3 separate regions of the Homo sapiens genome follow, and regions 1 and 2 are each linked to region 3. The links are contacts of gene promoters, found by promoter capture Hi-C in blood cells and fetal thymus (Javierre and others, 2016). All regions are on one chromosome and are shown on one strand. The core of a region is centred on a gene start or on the middle of the fragment in contact, and the rest is flanking DNA. Distances in the headings are between cores, read along the strand shown. Region 1 overlaps LOC107986455 (a long non-coding RNA gene). Region 2 overlaps SPRY4-AS1 (SPRY4 antisense RNA 1). Region 3 holds the start of SPRY4 (sprouty RTK signaling antagonist 4).

Evidence for each region. The method cuts DNA at HindIII sites, captures the fragments that hold promoters and counts their contacts. A CHiCAGO score of 5 or more calls a contact.
Region 1: a contact is called between a fragment that was not itself captured here and the fragment with the promoter of SPRY4 in region 3, in 1 of 17 cell types (endothelial precursors). The highest score is 6.1, in endothelial precursors.
Region 2: a fragment that was not itself captured here is called in contact with the fragment with the promoter of SPRY4 in region 3 in 1 of 17 cell types (endothelial precursors); the score reaches 5.1 in endothelial precursors.

The regions. Positions count from the first base shown.
Region 1 is chr5:142,181,372-142,185,494 of GRCh38, reverse strand. The region is part of intron 1 of LOC107986455 (a long non-coding RNA gene); the gene reads left to right. Among named protein-coding and RNA genes, the nearest start is that of NDFIP1, 75 kb to the right of the region's middle. RefSeq lists enhancers at 1-294, 295-1,191 and a silencer at 3,725-3,925. The HindIII fragment of the contact is 4,346 bases long and covers 1-4,027 here.
Region 2 is chr5:142,461,681-142,466,063 of GRCh38, reverse strand. It overlaps SPRY4-AS1 (SPRY4 antisense RNA 1), which reads right to left. Exons shown (of 4, transcript NR_120664.1): 4 at 2,010-2,094. Among named protein-coding and RNA genes, the nearest start is that of SPRY4-AS1, 140 kb to the right of the region's middle. The HindIII fragment of the contact is 1,464 bases long and covers 1,750-3,213 here.
Region 3 is chr5:142,322,652-142,326,511 of GRCh38, reverse strand. SPRY4 (sprouty RTK signaling antagonist 4) reads left to right here and starts at 1,491. Exons shown (of 2, transcript NM_001127496.3): 1 at 1,491-1,668. SPRY4-AS1 (SPRY4 antisense RNA 1) reads right to left here and starts at 1,219. Exons shown (of 4, transcript NR_120664.1): 1 at 1,142-1,219. RefSeq lists enhancers at 2,025-2,084, 1,566-2,528, 2,529-3,493. The HindIII fragment of the contact is 6,861 bases long and covers 1-3,860 here.

The sequences.
Region 1 (4,123 bases), core at 605-3,104, 140 kb after region 3:
AATCGGGCTTCTGTACCACCTCCCCTCTCCCTGACACACAAGAATCATCCCAGCACTTCTGGAAAAGTTTCCAAGGCAAAACTGCTGCCCTGAAGGCAGTCCCTTCAGGAACCAGGGTGATCAGGACAAAGCAATTTCAGGAGGCGGGAAGATCATAATCCACAAGACTTTGGTCAGGCTCAGTGGGAGCAAGCCAGCCCCAAAATGCGGTAATGATTACTAACAGACGATGCTCCCAACCTTACACGTGTTCCACATCCACAAACTGGAAAAAATTGTCAAATTAAATATGAAACAGGAAGTAGAGATAAAGACCCATGCACACACTGCGCACAAACTCACATACACTCTTCTCGTTAGCATGGGATGAAAGCCAGTGGTGACGATTTTTAATTAGAAAGGAGGACTCATAGCTGCCTCCCAAGGCCAAGGCACTCGGCTCTGAACACCAGGCCAGAGTTAACCCTTGCAGCTCCAGGGCGGTGCCTCATTATAAATGGCCCCACTCTACAAAAATTAGCTGGGCATGGTGGTGGGTGCCTGCAGTCCCAGCTACTTGGGAGGCTGCGGCAGGAGAATTGCTTGAACCCAGGAGGCAGAGGTTGCAGTGAGCCAAGGTTGTGCCACTGCACTCCAGTCTGGGCAACAGGGCAAGACTCTGTCTCAAAAAAATAAAAAAAAGATAAATGGCCCCTGCCGGGAGTGGTGGCTCACGCCTGTAATCCCAGCACTTTGGAAGGCCGAGGCGAATGGATCACCTGAGGCCAGGAGTTTGAGACCAGCCTGGCCAACATGGTGAAACCCCATCTCTACTAAAAATACAAAATCAGCGGGGCGTGGCGACGCATGCCTGTAATCCCAGCTACTCGGGAGGCTGAGGCAGGAGAATCACTTGAACCCGGGAGGTGGAGGTTGAAGTGACCTGAGATTGCGCCATTGCCCTCCAGCCTGGGCAGCAAGAGCGAAACTCTGCCTCAAAAAAAAAAAAAAAAGAAAAAAAGATAAACGGCCCCACTGCTAGAGGAAGCTCATCAAAGTTTTCTAACCTTGCTTGGTTAATTAAAGAATCATTAAGAAATGGGTGGAGGGGATAGGAGGAAGAAAGGAAGAGAAGAGAAGAGAAAAAATCAAGGGGAGAAGAGACTCTCGTGGCAGCATCAACCCCTCCACCAGGAGAGTGCTGGTGTGGAGGCCATGCCCTCTGAAGCCTGAGAGAGACAGGTTAGACTCCCAGCTTTTCTGTTCACCAACTATGTAACCATGGACTTACCCATCCTCTTGGTTTCAATTTTCCTTGTCTGTGAAATGGAAATGATAGCATGAACTTGACAAGATTGTTGTTAGGATTAAATGAGATATGTATGAAAAGCACCTATTTGCTTAGAACATTATAAATTCTCCAAAATGATGGCTACTACCTGGCCATTAAATTAGTTTCATTATTATTCTTTAGTCTTCTTCTGACCATGTTTGAGGAAAATCTTTCCTCTAAATAAATATAAGGGGATAAACTATCTCCTGTAGATACTGATTTCAAAGTGTGGGGATAGGGTAGGGAAAGTAAGTAGTTGCCTTTTCCTTGAACGGATTCGCCACTCCCCCCCACCACCATCACTGTGTCAGCTGAGAGTGAAATGTGACATCCTGGATGGACGAGTCCAGCAGTTGTCCTTTAGGGAAACCAGCCCACGCCCTACAGAAAAAGACAACCAGAGCTCTAAAACAGGAGCTAACGCCCCACCCCACCCGAACCCTTTCCCTGCCCATCACTCCTGAGTAGCATTTGACTCCAGCTTAAGTTGCTGCTTGAACGGCAGTTTACTGACAGCGATGCAGGTGCATGCATTTCCCCCTTCCTCTTACCAAGTCTATCTGAGAAAGAACAGGCAGGAGAAAGTGGGCTTGATTCTTTCTAAAACAAAAATGATCATTTTAGAGATAATCGTTATCATCCTGAAAGAGCTCTTCACATCTCAATGACCAGCTAATGCATAGAATATTGCTGGGCACATAGTAGGTGTGCATAAATACCTGTCGAGTGTCCAAATGGACAAAGTGACCCAGTCCCCACAGTGGCTACTCCTGAGGCACTCACATGTCAATAATAGAGACATACAGAAAGAACTCTCCCCCCAGACCCCGAACAAGTTTCCAGGTACAGGGTCATAGTACGCAGTTAAATTATGGCTTCCAATACATTTACAAAGTCAGTTTTGAAAAGAATTTGTTTCTCTCTTCCCTGTCAGCTTTATTCACCTACTCTTACTAAGACATTGGATCCAGTACCTGACACATAGCAGGTTTGTAATAAATAGGTGTGTAATAAAAAGTAATGAATGCATTACTGATGTCAAGAGCCACACTGCTGGCCTGATATAACCGTCAGAAAAATACGGCAGCAGAGCCCCAAGCAAGCCAGCCATGTGCATTTTCTTCCATTAGCGTCCTGTACCAGATAGTATCTTTCTAAATGGAATCATAAGACCTGACCTGGTATAGGAGTGCAGCACTGCTGGCTGACTCCAGTGACTCAAGCCGCATGGTTTAGAAAAGAACAGCCCACTTTTTATTAGTAGCAGTAGAAACAGTGCCAGTAATTGACATTTTGTGAGCATGTATTTGCCGGACTCCATGCTGGCTGATTTACATCTGATATATCTTTTAATTCTCACAACAATCTTATGAAGTAGGTTATATTATCCCCATTATACAGATAAATAAACTGTAGCTGAGAGAAGTGAAATGACTTGCCCAAGGCTGTGCAGCTAGTCTGTGTGCCTCCAGAGGGCTTTCTCATCACACCTCTGAGCTCTGACTCTCCAACCTGCCCCAGCTTTTCCCTGCATTCCAATCTCACCCAACAGTATCCATTCCTCCAACACCTCCAGACATCTGTTCAAGCATTTTCCTTGGTCTGGAAAGTCCTTCCTATCTTTGCCAACCATGGAAAGGCTCCCTATATTAGTCTATTTTCACACTGCTATAAAGAACTGCCCCAGACTGGGTTATTTATTTATTTATTTTTGAGATGGAGTCTCACTCTGTTGCCCAGGCTGGAGTGCAGTGGCGCAACCTTGGCTCACTGCAACCTCTGCTTCTCAGGTTCAAGCGATTATCCTGCCTCAGCCTCCTGAGTAGCTGGAATTACAGGCGGCCGCCACAACGCCCGGATAATTTTTGTATTTTTAGTAGAGATGGGGTTTCACCATGTTGGCCAGGCTGGTCTTGAACTCCTGACCCCAAGTGATCTGCTCACCTTGGCCTCCCAAAGTGCTGGGATTACAGGTGTGAGCCACTGTGCCTGGCCGGGACTGGGTAATTTATAAAGAAAAGATGTTTAATTGACTCACAGTTTTTCAGGTCTGGGGAGGCCTCAGGAAATTTAGAATCCTGGCAGAAGGAGAAGCAGTCACGTCTTACATGGAGCAGGCGAGAGAGCAAGTGTGTGAAGGAGACACTGTCAAACACTTGTAAAACCATCAGATCTCGTGAGAACTCACCCACCATCACGAGAATAGCATGAAAGAAACTGCCCCCGTGATTCAATCACCTCCTTCCCTTGTCACATGGGGATTAGAGGTCCCTCTCTCACTTAACATGTGGGATTACAATTCAAGATGAGATTTGGGTGGGGACACAGAGCCAAACCATATCACTCCCCTTATCTTTCAAGGCTTTGCCTAAAGTCTGCTCCCCTCTAAAGACTTCCCCAGCCCTCCTCACAGCCTGAGGCAGAACCGCTGCTCCCATTCTTGGCCTGTAGTTCAGAGCATCAGGGCACAAACTCACTGTGCTTGCAGGGAAGAGTCAGGATCAGTTCACCTTTGCACCTCCAGCACCTAGCACAGTCAGCTACCTGCCACTCGGCAGAAATTCAATAAATGTCTTATAATTAAGTAAAATCAAGCATATCATTCCCAGAATAACAAAATAGAGAGCAAACCTTCCAACCCCAGGACATTCTGGTCCCGTCTGCTCCCTAAGAAGTAGCTGACTGCTCTGGTTGAGAGGGGAGCAGAAAGAAGCTTAGAATTAGGCTGAGAGCCCCGCAAGCAGCCCTGGCAGGGGTCCAGCTCAGGGAGAGCCAGGTGGGGCTCCTACAGCAGCCTTTGTGATAGTGAGG
Region 2 (4,383 bases), core at 1,232-3,731, 140 kb before region 3:
TTCAGTATTGTAAGCCAATGAATTCCTTTTATGCTTAAGCTGGCTTCAGTTAGGTTTTCTGTCCATTTGCAACTAAAATCATCCTATCTGGTAGCAATAAGATCAGGAGGCAGAAGTTAAAACAACAACTATTCAATCTAACAGAGATCCAGCCTACCAAGAACACACTTGCTAAAGCCTCTGTGGAGCCATGGAGACCTCGGCCAGAGTCAAAGAATTATAGAGGTGGAAGAGACCTTGGAGACAACACATCCTGTTCAACCACCATTGCTGACTTTCTTTCTCTAAGTGGGTATGTACCTGGAGGTCCAGGGAGGAAGGACAGCACATAGTAAGCAAGAGGCAAATTCTTCTTCCCCTTGCTGCCTCAATGCCTTGTATGAGGCTGTTGCTCAATAAAACCTTTTTGACTAAACATTACAGACCCAGTCACCAATAACCAACCTCTCTCTCAAACATGCAGCTAGTAAACAGCATTTTTTTTTTTTTTTTTTTTTTTTTACAGCATCTCACTCTGTCACCCAGGCTGGAGCTCAGTGCTGAGATCTCAGCTCACTGCAACCTCTGCCTCCTGGGTTCTAGCAATTCTCATGCCTCAGCCTCCTGAGTAACTGGGATTACAGGCGCATGCCACCATGCCTGGCTAATTTTTGTATTTTTAGTAGAGACGGGTTTTCACTATGTTGGCCAGGCTGATCTCGAACTTCTGACCTCAGGTGATCCACCCACCTTGGCCTCCCAAAGTGCTGGGATTAAGATGTGAGCCACCACGCCGGGCCTGCTTTTCTTTTTACAAGGCATGTATCTCTTCCAATAATTCCCTGAGTGGATTACTTTCACCTCCTACAGCAGTTTGTCTCTCCTTCCGTTTCTTTGCTTGACACTACCTTCTCATTTCTTTCTATTCTCTATTTTGCCCTTTCCTTTTTTGCTCAAAACTTTTCTTTACTTCTTGATTCCACATTACCTATGGGCACTTAAGAATCTACACATTGTTGGCCGGGCACGGTGGCTCACGCCTATAATCCCAGCACTTTGGGAGGCCGAGGCGGGCAGATCACGAGGTCAGGAGATCGCAAACATCCTGACTAACATGGTGAAACCCCGTCTCTACTAAAAATACAAAAAATTAGCCGAGCGTGGTGGTGGGCGCCTGTAGTTCCAGCTACTCAGGAGGCTGAGGCAGGAGAATGGCATGAACCTGGGAGGTGGAGCTTGCAGTGAGCCGAGATTGCACCACTGCACTCCAGCCTGGGCGACAGAGCGAGACTCCATCTCAAAAAAAAAAAAGAATCTACACGTTGTTCACTTCTCCATCCTTTAACTTCTACTGAAACCCTGAATCACCTATCCGTCGTCACCCATCCTCTAACCTATCCTCACACATAGTTCGACTGCATTAAAAACAGCTATTTTTTTTTACACCCTGTCCCCAAGCAAACATGCATACACACACACACACACACCCGCTAAAATCAATTTCTCACAACTGAGTTATCAACATCTTTACGAGAGCCAAGGGATATTTCTTCCTAGAATCAGATCTCGCAGCCACCCAAGATATTTTTACATGGTTCAGGATGGTAGTGGAAAGTAAATCTAATTGTCCATTTCTTGGCAATGCCTTGTAGGACATGATCAGTTATTTAAACTTCCTGTGACTAAATTCCCCCTATTTCTGTGACAGATTAATGCCATTTGCCAGCATATAATGTTAGCCAAGTTCTGGTAACACACAGAGGGAAAGCTTCACGTAAACCTTAAGCAAAGTTATTACTCTCTGGAATCCAGTATGTAATTGGCACTCCTTAAGAATTACAATTATTATTTTTATATTCCTTTTAGAGTGTCTTAGGAACTTACAGGTCTTCAGAGAAAAAGCTGTGGGATTTTGGATGAGAGTCACAAAATCATTTGCTCTCTAGTCCAAGTGAAATCTTTTGTTAGAACTTTGGACTGGGAAGGTGGAAAGTTAATTCAGGATATAAAATAAACAAGTGATACCTTGAATCTATGCAGCCTCCCATTGCAAAAATCGGCAACTGCTCCCACGTAGCACTTAAACCTCAGTGCCTTCTTTTACTGGAAGTTGTTCTGAAGAAAGGAATACAAATAAAGAAAAATTTAAAGAAAATGTATGATGGGTACAAATTCTAGGCTTCCTTTCTTATTCCCATTGTTAATATAACTCTATTTAGACAAGTTCCCTACTTTCTTATTCAACTTCAAAACTGTAATTACTTACAGAACTGAAAAAAAAAAATCTACCTTTCCCAGCGTCACTTCTTTACTCTCTTTGGAAACAAGTCTGTGTACCTTCTCAGACACCCTCCGCTGCTTCCTTCTTCCTTTCTCTCTAGGCCAGGATCCCATCTGTCCTGGTTGCCCCTCTACCCCTAATGGTCTGAGGTCCAGCTTCCTGAGAGGCCACTGAGAGGATGGGTGATACAACCCTGAGCCCCCAAAGAGTGCTTTACCAATGAGAAACAGGAGCAGGGGCAGAGTGGGAAAGAGCTGGATTCCTGTTTCCTTCTTTCTCCCGCTATGCTAAGGCCGGATTCCTCCAGTAAATTGTCTGGAAGAGCCCTGCATGCTGAGTGACCTGCTTGATCCTTCATGGCTTATTTGGAAATGATAGCCAGCAGAAAAAAAAGAAAATGAAAGAAATTCATGTATCCCGTTGTCTCTCCCTGTGCCCCACACACCCTCACCCTGCGATTTCACCTCCCAGATGAAGTTTTAGCACCAGGGTCCTTGCCTCCGACTCTGCTTTCTGGAGGACCAAAGCTAAGATGTTTATTTTCTCTAGACCAGCATTTTTCAAGGCGTGATCTGCAGACCACCTGCATCAGAATCCTCTGGGGTTCCTGCTAAAAAGGCAGATTTCCAGGTCTACTTTAGAGATTCAGATTCGGTAGGCCTGCGGTGGATCCTAGGAATCTGCATTAACAATCTCCAAAGTTGACTCCTAAACACTATAGAACATGAGAACCACTGGTCCAAATTCCTCCAGTGTCTCCCAAGCTCTGCGAATAGGACTCTGTGGTCACCCAGGCTAGAACTGCAGCACGTGCCCCTTTATCCCTCATTCTTGCTGGGTCCTACTGATATTTACCAATGTAATATCACCAGCTTCTGCACCTGCTCTCTGTTCTCCAATCCCACTGTCCCCATTTGGGCTTATCTCCTATTACCTGGACTATCATCAAAGCTTCCTAAATAGGCTCCCCAGTTACCTTCCAAAACAACACTAAAATCAGGGATAAGGCTGCGAATTTCCTAGAGCATCTAGAAAAGCACAGTACAAGAAGCGGGTATGCAACTTATCAGAGAGATGTATGAAGTCCCTGAGGTGATGTGCCTTCAGCTGGATACAGTCAGGCCTGTGCTAGATTTGTGATCCTGCCCATTTGCTGTGTTTAGTTCTTATATCATTACTACACTTGTTTTACTGATCATGACAACATGTATGGTCAACTCCATGTGAGGAGAGGTCAGCTCATCTATATCTGTGCAATCCTATATATCTAATGGGGCACACTGCACACAATGGGTGCTTTACACAGGCTACTGACAGTCAAGATAACAGGGATATAAAATTCATTTTCTTTTTTTTCCTCCCTTTCAACCTTCCCAGACCCATGTCACTCAATCTCGCTTCTGAATTGATAAACACTTCTAACATAGCTTGAAAACTCTCCTAGGCTCTCTTCTGCAAGATTTTGGTCAAAATCCATTTAAGTGCACCTGTGTTCTGTTTATTTCCTTCTTCACTGTCTATTCTGACATGAGAAACTGAATGTTCTTCCTTATAAGGACACAAATTATATTGCTTAACTGTGATAATTATAACTAACATTTAATAAGCACTTACCATGATCTAAGCCCTTTCCAGGCATTTCTTCATTTAGTCTTTTTTTTTTTAAGACAGGGCCTCACCATCACCCAGGCTGCAGTGCAGTGGTGTGATCATAGCTCACTGCAGCCTCAACCTCCTGAACTCAGATGATTCTCCCACCTGAGCCTCCCAAGTAGCTGGGACCAGAGGCACATGACACTGTGCCAGGTCAATTTTTTTATTTTTTGTAGAGACAAGGTCTTTTATGTTGCCCAGGCTAGTCTTGAACTCCTGGGCTCAAGCCATCCTCCTGTCTCAGCCTCCCAAAGTGCTGGGATTATAGGTGTGAGTCAGTGCACCTGGCCTCATTTAGTCCTTTTGAAAGCCCTAACAGGTAGGTACTTGTATTGGCCCAAGATGAGATTTGGGTGGGGACACAGCCAAACCATATCAGTACTATTTTTATCCACCTTTACAGATAAGGAAACTGAGGCTTGGAGAAATTATAACTAGCCTTCAGAAAGTCCTGGAGGTTGTCTGATTAC
Region 3 (3,860 bases), core at 242-2,741:
CAATCCTATAGTGGCGTAGGAAGAAAAAGACTGCCACACAATCTCCCCGTGCGGCCAGAACAGCGGCAAGACAGACCTTACAAGGGACTCAGGGCCAAGCCCTGGCCCAGACTCTGCTCTTATCCACGCATCAAAGCCACCCCCCGCCCCGGACTTCCCGGAGGCTACAGGCTCCTCCGTTCCAGGGAGGAGCAGGGCCTGCTGCGAGGGCTCCCCGCCTTCCTGGAGTCAGGCCTAATGGCGGGGGCTTTTCTTTTCACCGGCTTGAGCTGATCCTCACCCCCGCCCCCCAACGCCACCATCATTAACAGCGAAGAAAGGATCCCCAGCCATTTCCATTTCCTCTGCGGCTCAAGAGCCCCGTTGTTATTTAATCCTGAGGCCACCCCGGCAGCATCCTCGGCGCAGCCGGCTCCACCCATCCACCTGGCCAGTTCTCGGCCGCTCCCACTTCCCCGGAGGGGAGGCCGGTGAGAGGTGGGGGATATTGGGGAAAGGCGCCTACAACAGCGAAGGGCCGTGGGCCTTCGGTGGACCGAGGCTCCTCAGGCCAGCGTCCTGTGAGGGCTGGGAAACCGACTGGGACAGAGAAAGGACACCTAGCTAGGGCGACAGAGAGCGGGCAGACGCCCGGGCACTGCGGACATTGCACTGGGGCGGGGGGCGGGGGGAACGCTGGGAGGCGAGGGCCAGGCTTCCTCTGGCTGAGTTGCCAGAATCGCCCCGGGGGGTACTGGAGCCGGAAGAGGCCTGGGCCCAGTCACTGTCTACACCCAAGAAATGGGGGGAGGGGCGGCCAGCACTCACGAGAGATTCAGCCTCAGGAAAAAGAACCAGATTCACTCACCAATCCTCACCCCACCCTTTGATATGAATGATGGACATTTTCCTAATTTTTGGTAAACGCAGCTTCAAGACCCCTCCCGCCTGGCGTCTCTGGTCTAGAGCAAGAGAAGGCCCCCAGTAGGGGTCCTCCCGCCCCCCCTTTTGACTGCCTGCGGGGGGCAGAGATCCCCAGATCTAGGTGTGCCCTCCACCACCCTGCTCTCAACCCGGGATCCGGAGGCCGCAGCGTCCCCCACCCCCCAGCGACACTGACGGTTCCTGCCCAGGCCCGCAGTGGCGTGAAGGTGGCCTTTACCTCCTCTCGCAGGCTGGGAGGGGGTGCAGCCCGCGCAGCTGGCCCAGCTGCAGCAGTCGCCGCCGCCCTCCATTCATTAAAAAAAAAAAAAAAAAGGCAACAACAGCCTCCACTGGAACCTCCACCCCTCTTTGTAAAAGAACGACGGCTCCTGGTGGAGCTTGAGCCAGTCCCAGCAATCACGGGTTAAGATCTTTTCCCGCCCCCCATTCATAAAAAAAGGAGCGGAGCGCATGCGCGCTCAGGGTCTGTTGTGCCCACCCATTCATAGAATCGCGAACGGCACGCGTGCGCACTGGCGCTCCCTTCCCTCCCATTCATAAAAAAGCCATTTTCCCAGGCAGTGGTTGCAACATCGCCGCGGAGGTAGCGAGCTGAGCTGACAGCGCGGAGCTGGCGCTGTGGAGCGCAGGGAGCCTTGCCGGTTCCTCCGACCGGCGTCTGCGAGTACAGCGGCGGCTAACCTGCCCCGGCTTCAGGATTTACACAGACGTGGGGCGATGCTTGTGACCCTGCAGCTCCTCAAAGTAAGTCCATGGCTGGTTTGGAGATCTGAAACTGCCCCTCTCTGAGCCGCGACGCGACTCCCCCCTTGGGCTGGGGCAAATGGTGCGCTATTTCTAGGCGCGCCTCAGTGTTCCTTCCCTCAGCCTGCGCCTCCTTGAGTCGCTGCGGTGCGCCGCAGCTCCCTGACGCCCTCGGCCCGGCCGGCACGGCGCCGGGGGTGTTCACAGCCTGGCACCGCCGTTTCCGACCCCTGGGCATTGCCAAGCCCGGCTTCCCCGCCCTCTGAGACTCGGGAAGCCCCGTGCGTGTCCCGGGAGTTTGCCTCTGGCCTGGCCTCTTTCCTTCTCCTGCCACCATCCGCCTCGAACGCTGGAACGGGCGTCTCTGGGCTTGGTCAGGAGCCACCGTTTGGGTCGGGGGGCGCCCTCGCTCTGGGCGGCTCGCCCACCTCCCAGCTCGGTGCCCACGGTGCCAGCTTTGCCGTGTATCTCCCAGCCCGCCGTAGCGGCCTATGCTCGACGTAGATTTTTTCTTTCTCTTCGGAGCCGTGACGGACTGAATTCCCTCCCCTTCTGCCTCTCCCTCGATGGTCAGCGAGGGGCTGGCTCAGGACTGGGCATTCCTACTCCCTCTCCTTGGCGAGGCGGTTCCTCGCCGTCTGACCTTTGCTCCGCTGCCGCATTTTATGCTATGCAACTGCCTTGCAGTTGACTTTTTCTTGCCTGGCCTCTGTAAGGCCTGAGGCTCCTCGGCCACCCTGTACCTCCCTATCCTCGGGCACCGAGCTGTGCCAGGCCCCGGAGCCCCCAGGCCGCGCTAGGGCTGCGGTGGGGGTTGAAGGTGCGTTTACATAACACCAGGCGTGTGGGAGCTGGAGGAAGAGGTTGCGAATGTAGGAGAGATAAGGCTCCTGCTTTCCCTCCTTCCTTCTTGGTGGTACCAGGCTTGACATCACAGAGAAGAGGATAGAGACGGTATGTTCTGACAAATTCTGAATCGCCAAGACCCCGGGGACAGTGAGCTGGGTGAGGGCGGGTTTGGCTAGCCAGGGCAGCTAGAGCTTGGCTCCATCACTGGGTCCAGGGCTGTGCCCAGTTCCCCCTCCATGCAGACGATCAAAAAGCATTTAGACAGTAGCTGCTCTTGTGCAAGAAGACGGTTTCTCAATTCTCCTTGATTGGGGGCAGGGGGTTGTGGGCAGGAGAGGCAGGGGAGACAGAAAATGGTTGCGTGGCTTATAGGGCTGAAGGATGGGCAAGAGAGGCGAAATGGGCTGGAGGGGCTAGATGGTAGGCAGAGTAGGGAGCTGCTGGCTGCCTCTTTCACCAGCTGCTGGAGGGGCATCCATATTGCCAAGGCCTCTGTGAGGGCAGGAGGCCGCCTTCTGGCGCAGCAAGGCTTCCGTACCCCCCAGCGCGGTTAGTGCTGGAAAGAAGAGTGTACAGTGGGGTGCCCAAACCTAGTGGCATCCCCTTCTTTCCTGCCTCCAAATCAGTGGCGTGATTCTCTCCAGTTTTGGGAGAGGCCAGACACACTGGAGGCCAAAGAACTTGCAGAGGGGCGGGAGCAAGCACTCGTCTGTGTCTGTAGCTGACCGAGGCACTAACCTCCCTGACAAGTCTCTCGGGATTCAAAGCTGGAAGGTATAAGGCTCAGAGAAGTTGGGAACTGCGGGTTTATCAATCTCTTAATGAGCTCAGTCTGGCCTGAGGCCCTACCCAATATTGCACTGGTGGATTTCACAATGTTTGGAGTTCTCCAGATCTTCACACAAATGGAGCATAAACATCTCTGAAATTTTCAGCCTTTTTTTTTTTTTTTTTAGGGCGGGTGTCAGGAGAGCTAGGAGAGGCAGGGCTGCAGTTAAAGATTTCTCTTTCTCTCTCCCTCTCTGTCTCCCAGAAGGGTGGGAAAGAACTAGTGGAGATGTCCAGTGTGAAATCACATTTCCTCTTTCCCATCTCTTGGGAGGGTTCTCACGTGCTGCGAGGCTCCAGCAAATCCTAATGTGGTGAACAGCACACACACTTACCAACCACGCCATGTGGCCAGTACGGGTGTAGGGTGGGGATTTTAGTAGCAGATTTCTGAAATCTTCATGGACAAATATTGGTCAGTTACAGTGAGCAGACTTTAAAGGCATCTGTTGGTTATCAGGAGTCACTCCCTTTCAGTGGAGTGTAAATGCCCTCTTGCCCTTAGCCCTCCTGCC